Regions from separate parts of the Homo sapiens genome. Here regions 1 and 2 are each linked to region 3. Evidence: promoter capture Hi-C in 16 types of primary human blood cells and fetal thymus (Javierre and others, 2016). All regions are on one chromosome and are shown on one strand. The core of a region is centred on a gene start or on the middle of the fragment in contact, and the rest is flanking DNA. Distances in the headings are between cores, read along the strand shown. Region 1 has its middle 37 kb from the start of LINC02705. Region 2 has its middle 18 kb from the start of LINC02705. Region 3 holds the start of TCN1 (transcobalamin 1).

Region 1 (2,700 bases), core at 105-2,604, 260 kb after region 3:
CTAATTGAACCATTGGTCATTAGTGATTAACTGAATTTTCAGCCCCTCTTCCCCTTCCTGGAAGTTGAGGGTTGAGACAAAAAAATCCAACCCTCTGGGCACAATGAATCATTCCCCTGGGAATCAGCCCTCCAACCAGTTGTTTCTAGGGCTTTCTAAAAATTGTCTTATTAACATAAGCTTAGGAGTATTTTATTTTATGTATTTATTTTTTCTTTTTAAAAAACTTTTTATTAAAAAAAGTTTAAACCTTTAGAAAAGTTACAAAAATTGTAAAATGAACTCTCATATGCCTTTACCTAGATTCATCAACTTTTTCTTTTTCTTTCACAATTTTTTTTATTATTATACTTTAAGTTCTGGGGTACATGTGCACAACATGCAGGTTTGTTACATATGTATACATGTGCCATGTTGGTGTGCTGCACCCGTTAACTTGTTTATTTACATTGGGTATATCTCTAGCTTAGGAGTATTTTAAAGCACTTGTTGTAAATAACAAAAGACTGTCTTTCAACTTTATCTTTTAGGAGTGACTTCAGGAACCAAGGATAATCAAATACTTTAACAAAAGATATTCTTACTGCTTTAGTACTTGGGGCATGAGAAGTCTTATAGGAATCTTCCTAGTTGAAAACTAGGAGTCACGGATGGACAAAAACAAATTATATCTATCGTAACATCATAGATACTTATAAACATAAAAAGAAAATAATATTTCTGAGAGCCCAATATGAGGCAACCCCATTGAATGACTTATATATGTTAGCAGGTTTGATACTAACAACGCTTTTATTTTTGTAATTGCCCACTGCACAGCTACAGCCGATTCGTAGACAGCAGTATTACAGTAAAGATTTTAATAAATACAGAGCTAGCCAAATGGAAGGACAGGGGTTTATTACTCAAATCAGCCTCCTTGAAAGCTTGGGGGCTAGAGTTTTTCAAGGATAGTTTGGTTTGTAAGGGGCTAGGAGATGGGTAATGCTGATTGGTTGGGGATGATATCATAGGGGTTTGAAAAATAGTTCCTGTGTGCAGAGTCAGCCTCTGGGTGGGGACCACAGGATCAGTTGAGTCATGAGTCATGAGTCCAGGTGGAGTTAGTAGGTCATCGTCATCAGAATGCAAAAGTCTGAAAAACATCTCAAAAGACCCATGTTAGGTTCTACAATAGTGATATTATCTATAGGAGAAATTGGAGAAGTTGCAAATCTTGTGACCTCCAGAACAACGGCTGGTTATTATCTAGGTTTGCCTACATTTTAGCAGAATTCAGGCCTCTCCCATAATCCTAATCTTTCATTAGTTTTACAAAGGCAGTTTTGTCTCTGAGCAAGGAGATTTGTTTTACAGAGGCACTATTATCATTTTTGCTTCAACGTTAAACTATAACCTAATTCCTCCCATGGTTAGCTTGGCCTACACCCAGAAATGACCAAGGGCAGCCAATGTATGAGTCTAAAAGCAAGAAGAAATCAGCCATGCTAGACTTCTCTCACTGTCATAGTCTTTGCAAAGGGAGTTTCATTCTTAAAAACTATAAAAAAATCCAGAGATGATTTCTTTAATAAGTATTAGAGCTACAATTTAAAATCTAGCACCTCTGAATGGAGTGTCTACATTGTTTTTGCTGTTATCACACTGGTACCAATAAGAAAAATATATAATATAATTGAAATATAAAACATTTTGAAAGACTTGTCTGCTGAGACTTCCTTCCTCGAAGACTGTAAGACCTTGCTATAGATCAGGAGTTTATTACTCAGATCAGCCTCCTTGAAAGCTTGGGGGCTGGAATTTTTCAAGGATAGTTTGGTTTGTTTTTTACAATATGTTTTTTTTTTTACAATATGGTTCCAGAAGCATGAAGACTTAACTGCCTCTCTAACGGCTCTTAGGGTGTTTACAGCTCACTGAATTAAATCTGATTGTCTGGTTAATGTTGGAGCTCAGAAGCTAATAACTCAAATTATGGCACTTTAACTTGCTGAACTGAAGAAACCTCAAGGTCTTTCTGACCTTCCCCGGGCTTCCATCATCTCTCCCAAAGAAGTTGAAGTGCCTTTATCTGCCTAAATTCCAGATCCACCAAGAAGAACAATTGGTTTTTTCTTTGCTTTTCTGTAAAACCAAAAATGTAACAACGCCTGAATAGACCCTTTCACTGTCAAAGAGAGTTATTTAAAAGTTAATCTGTTCCCAGGGATCCTTTTATTCTTCCTAGTAATATCCTCAATACAATTCCTCTTCTCTCCCCTCCCATAACCTTTCTGGCCAGCATAATGTAGTGGCATCATTGTCTGGGGTAACACCCAAGGTTTGTTGTCCCACGTCATTTAAAGCTAGGAGGCAGACACATCAGAGTGAGGTTAAGCATAGAAATTTAATTTTTTTTCTTTTTCTTTCTTTCTTTTCTTTTTTTTTTTTTTTTTGAGATGGAGTCTCACTCTGTCACCTGGGCTGCAGCGCAATGGCATGATCTTGGCTCACTGCAACCTCTGCCTCGCAGGTTCAAGCAATTCTCCTGCCTCAGCCTCCCAAGTAGGTGGGATTATAGGTGTCCACCACCAAGTCTGGCTAATTTTTTGTATTTTTAGTAGAGACAGGGTTTCACCATGTTGGCCAGGCTGGTCTTGAACTCCTGACCTCTGGTGATCCACCCACCTCGGCCTCCCAAAGTGCTAGGATTACAGGCAT
Region 2 (2,700 bases), core at 175-2,674, 280 kb after region 3:
TCCTGATTTTTGAAGATATCTTATTTTGACAGACTCAAAGATCTAGATTGCAAAAACCTGGAACCATTTGTCATGTAATGCAATCTCCAGTTCCCCTGCACCATCAGGAAGTGGATGGAAAAATGGGGCAAACTTCCCAATACCCAGAGGGTAATAAGTAAAAGGCCAGAATGAGCAGAGATGAAAACCATATTATAAGCAGATCTTGCTGTATTTCTTGGGGAGCAAATCTCAATTCCTGCCTAAGAGAATCAAATAAAGTCTATGAATAGGTAACTCCAGGATTACTAATTATTTCTTTGTCCAACTAGATGTTTTTATTCTTTTTAATCCTCCTAATTGATCATGGTATTTTGACTGTGAGTGTGGGAAAGTACAGACAACATGATTTCCCAAATAACAAGAAAGTGGTTCCAGAATTGTAGGAAAAATAATGTTAAATCATTAAAAATTTCCTGAGATTGTGCTAAGTATAACAAATGTCTGAGACTCTGGATTTTCTACCTCGATGAGAAAATAAGTGCATTTCCTTTTTGGGGAGAGAGTTGAACATTTGGGTGGCCAGAGAAAAGACTGTGTTAGGGCCAGAGAATGTGGATTGTCTAGCAATTTTTATTCTGATCTTGCTTCCTTGAATAGAGCTCCTGGTTTTAACCTAGACATACAACTGCTCAGTCAATAGCTAGATTTCGTCACCACTCATAACTGTGTGTGGTTATATGACAAAGATCTGTCCATATGATGCAGACATAAAGGAAAAAGCTTTAGTTACAACTTTCATACCTTAAAAGAAGCCACACAAGGAAGAAAGCAAAGCTATACTCCCGGGTACGGACTACCTACTCCTGAGCTGTTGCAGAACAGGAAAATCAAATGACAATTTCTTTAAATCACTTTGTATATAGTCCTAGTTCACAGCATGTTAAATGTACTGTATCACAGTAGTATAATTTATCTCTTTCTTTTTGTCACCCAAGGTGAAGTGCACTGTTCAATCAACACTTACTGTAATCTCAGTCTCCTGGGCTCAAACAGTTCTACCACCTCAGTCTCCCAAGTAGCTAGTACTACAGGCATGTGCCACACATCCGGCCAATGTTTTATTTTCTGTAGAGATGGGGTCTCACTCTGTTGCCCAGCTTTGTCTTGAACTCCTGGACTCAAGTAATCCTCTCACCTCAGCTTCCCAAAGTACTAAGATTACAGGCATGAACCACTACGCCAGGGCCAATTTATTTCTTCATTGGGCAATTGACTTTATATACTTTGAGTGTTTTGTTTTGTTTTGTTTTTTGAGACACAATTTCCTTCTGTCACCCAGGTTGGAGTGCAGTGGTATAATCTCAGCTCACTGCAAACTCCGCCTCCCAGGTTCAAGTGACTCTTGTGCCTCAGCCTCCTGAGCAGCTGCGATTACAGACGTGCACCGCCACGCCCAACTAATTTTTGTATTTATAGTAGAGATGGGGTTTCTCCATGTTGGTCAAGCTGGTCTCAAACTCCTGGCCTCATGTGATCTACCTGCCTCCGCCTCCCAAAGTGCTAGGATTACAGGTGTGAGCTACTGCGCCCAGCCTACTTTGAGTTTTTTTGAAGTGAATGGCCTACTTTCATATCCTTACCATGTGCACAGTGTATCAAACAAATAAGTGTTCAATAGATATTAAATCAACTAATGAATCAATTAACAAATAATATTGAATTACTTGGTGTTACCGTTGAGAGTTTCTGAGTATCCTAGGTGTTTATAAATGTAGGGCAAATATGACCAAAATACTGTTTGAGGAGTGGTCCTCAAAAACTATACACGAACAACAGCTGTGCCTTTCTTCCTCTTAACAAATATTTGAAAAATTATATGCAAGATTACTAAATAAAATAATCAATTGCATCCTCATTCTCTCAACTGTTACTCACCCAACTGATTTTACTGCCATCTGCAGTATAGGTGAGTGTGCAGAGAGCAAAAGTAATTGAAAGTTGCAAGCAGTTTAGCATCATCAGTACAATCACAAGGCCCCGTTAAAGAGAACAGAATTCCGTTGGCTGGGATTCCACCTCATGGTCGTATCAAGACTTGTATCCTAAAGCTTCATCTCAGGCCTTTGGAGTCCCCTCCACTTTGCATTAAACAAAATGATGACACGAGTTTGAATCTCAATTCAAAAATATATGTTCTGCTTTTGAAGAAGAAGTGGATTTCAAAAAAATAAAACAAAACACCAACACAAAACAAAACAAAGCAAACAATAACAACAAAAAGCCAGCGTTACTTTGAATTTTAACGCAACAGTGCCTGTATTAAAAAATAGTCTCGGTAACTTTCCAGTATTCCCAACGATCATTTTGCTGAGGGCTTTCAGAGGTTGGAGGGTGGGAGCAGGGAGAGGATCAGGAAAAATAACTAATGGGTACTAGGCTTAATACCTGGGTGATGAAATAGTCTGTACAGCACGTTCCAATGCCACAAGTTTATCTATATAAGAAACCTGCACTTGTACCCATGAACTTAAAATAAAAGTTAAAGAAAAAGGCCCGAAGACAGTCCAATGGATAAGGGTCTAGGGAGAAAGTTCAAAAGTTCCTGATTAATAAACACTTTCATGTGCAAAAAAAAAAAATAGGATCTCTTCTCAGACGTCAGAAAAAAATGCAGTATCTGCACATTTTTTCAACGGATAGGGAATTCATGGAGAAATG
Region 3 (2,700 bases), core at 113-2,612:
AGGAAATGTAATTTCTCTTGCCCAGTTTTCTTTACTTTAAAAGAATGAGTCAAGAAGATCTGAATAGAGTGATTGTAGAAAGGTCATGGTTTGTTGCAGACACAATGGAACAATTGTGAGTCAGTTCTCTGAGATTTTGTGGAACCATCCAGCTCAGCAGATTTTCTGGCCCTGAAACAGACTTTTTAGTTCCTGATCAACAACTCAAATCAGCTTCCTTGAGTCTCAAAGATAAATTTAATTATTATCATTATTATTTAAAATGAATTGAAAGCTAAAACCTACATAGCCATTCCCTATTCTTAGGATCCAACAGGGGAAATGTCAAGCCAAGAAGAAAAATCAGAGTCAGAAGAGTCTATGCTTTAGCCTGTATGTATACAAGCCTGTCTTCTGTGGTGTTCTCTTCTTACTGGTTAGAGAGCACAGATAGTACCACCTAGTAATCTTTGGACTGGTTTGAAGCTCAATTTCAGAGTAAAGTCTCACAAAAGAGAATTCATGCACTTGAGAACTGCACCAGACTTCATGAGATAATTTGCTTCAATAGTCTCCCCTCATTATCCTTTATTTATGAATGAAGCTAAAGAAATTCAGAAATGTTGGGTCATTCAATAACTAAGGGATCAAACTAAACCTGAATTTAGTTTTCCCTTCTCTTACTTTAAAGTTCTTTTACAGAACCACACAATCTCTGGGGTCAACACCCATGCAAGAGATGATGGAACTTTATCCCATGTGTCCTGGGAAAGAGTTGAAGGAAGGTGGACATGCAACTTGGAACATCTAAACTCACTCATGACAAGACAGCAGTCATCACTATTTGAAAGAGATTATTATTTTTTTCTATGTAGTTACAAGGGGTTAACCCAAAAATCATGCATTGAATTTCAGGGAAAAAAGATTGCATATCAAGACCAAAAGATAACTTTCCATGATCTAGAAAAGTTTCTGGGAGCATAAATTTTCTGTCATTGAAAAGTCACATGAATAGGGAGTTACTTGGTAGGGATGCTGTGCTAGAGAGGATCTGAGCATAGAAAGAGCAGTTAGGCAAGTGAATACACAATCTATAATTCCTCTTACAACAACATGCATTGTGAGACTTTCCTCACCATCTCCTGCCACCCTTTTCATCATTCATGGAGTCCAACCACATACGAAACTGGAATGGGATCTTTTCTCAGGTAACTCTACATAGAGTCTCTTGTCAACAGTTTTCAGTAGACTATCACTCTAGAGTAATTTTAGCTCAAAGTTTACTCACCACAAATCTCGCATAGTTGGCTTGGAATAAAAGAAAACAGTAAGAGCCCCACTAGGGGCAGCTGGTGTGACTGTCTCATCTCTCCAACAGTGTACCAGAATGTTGATGAATTGGCTGGCTATTTATTAAGTGATGGGCAGAAGGTAATGAGAGCTCCTCCTTCAGGTTGCCTCAGCCTCTTTTCACTCAAGCAAATATTGAGCAATGTCAGGAGGTGTGGTCAAGTGTATTTGTCCATGTGATGTAATAAATAAGGAAGAAGACTTGAAGGATGTGGTTAGGGAGAATAAGGCAATAACTTTCCTTTGTCTCCTGTCCTAAACCTTCGGGTTTCATATCTATTATTTGCCTTCCGTGCAGTGAAGATATATTAGGCAAATGACTGTTTCCTATAATCTTTCCTTTTTTTTCCGTTTCACTTTATGTTTTATGTTTCCTGATAAAGTAGATTTGATCATGCAAACACATACAACATATAAAAATGGAAGTAAAAGAAGACATCCAAATGGGAAGCAGGCATATGAAAAAGTGCTTGAAAAGGTGCTTAACATCATTGATCATCAGATAAATGGAAATCAAAGCTACAATGAGATATCCTCTCATCTCAGCTAAAAATGGCTTTATTCAAAACACAGGCAATAACAAATGCTGGCACGGATGTAGAGAAAAGGGAAGCCTTGTACACTGTTGGTGGGAATGTAAATTAGTACAATCACTATGGAGAACAGTTTGGAGCTTCCTCAAAAAACTAAACATAGAGCTACCATATGATCCAGCAATCCCACTGCTGGCTATATACCCAAAAGAAAGAAGACCAGTATATTGAAGAGATATCTGCACTCCCATGTTTGTTGCAGCACTGTTTACAATAACCAAGATTTGGAAGCAAGCTAAGTGTCTATCAACAGATAAATGAACACAGCAAATGTACATATACACAATGGAGTACTATTCAGCCATATAAAAGAATGAAATCCTGTCAGTTGTGACAAAATGGATGGAACTGGAGATAATTATGTTAAGTGAAATAAGCCAGGCACAGAAAGACATACATTGCATGTTCTCACTTATTTGTGGGATCTAAAAATCAAAACAATTGAATTCATAGAGATAGAGAATGAAAAGATGGTTACTGGGGGCTGGGAAGGCTAGTGGTGGGAAGGAGATGCGGAGGGTTAATGGGTACAAAATATTGGAAAGAATGAATAAGACCTACTATTGGTAGCATAACAGGGTGACTATAGTCAATAATAATTTAATTGTACATTTTAAATAACTAATAGTATAACTGGATTGTTTGTAACGTAAAGGATAAATGCTTGACAGGATGAATACCCCCTTCTCTATGATGTGATTATTACGCATTGCATGCCTGTATCAAAACATTTCATGAGCCCCATAAATATATACACCTACTATGTACCTACAAAAAT

What was found. The method cuts DNA at HindIII sites, captures the fragments that hold promoters and counts their contacts. A CHiCAGO score of 5 or more calls a contact.
Region 1: a contact is called between a fragment that was not itself captured here and the fragment with the promoter of TCN1 in region 3, in 4 of 17 cell types (erythroblasts, M2 macrophages, M1 macrophages and 1 more). The highest score is 6.4, in erythroblasts.
Region 2: a contact is called between a fragment that was not itself captured here and the fragment with the promoter of TCN1 in region 3, in 4 of 17 cell types (M2 macrophages, erythroblasts, M0 macrophages and 1 more). The highest score is 7.6, in M2 macrophages.

The regions. Positions count from the first base shown.
Region 1 is chr11:60,126,331-60,129,030 of GRCh38, forward strand. No RefSeq gene overlaps it. Among named protein-coding and RNA genes, the nearest start is that of LINC02705, 37 kb to the right of the region's middle. The HindIII fragment of the contact is 860 bases long and covers 925-1,784 here.
Region 2 is chr11:60,145,168-60,147,867 of GRCh38, forward strand. No RefSeq gene overlaps it. Among named protein-coding and RNA genes, the nearest start is that of LINC02705, 18 kb to the right of the region's middle. The HindIII fragment of the contact is 1,328 bases long and covers 761-2,088 here.
Region 3 is chr11:59,865,125-59,867,824 of GRCh38, forward strand. TCN1 (transcobalamin 1) reads right to left here and starts at 1,363. Exons shown (of 9, transcript NM_001062.4): 1 at 1,268-1,363. The coding sequence starts at 1,346. The HindIII fragment of the contact is 12,351 bases long and covers 1-2,700 here.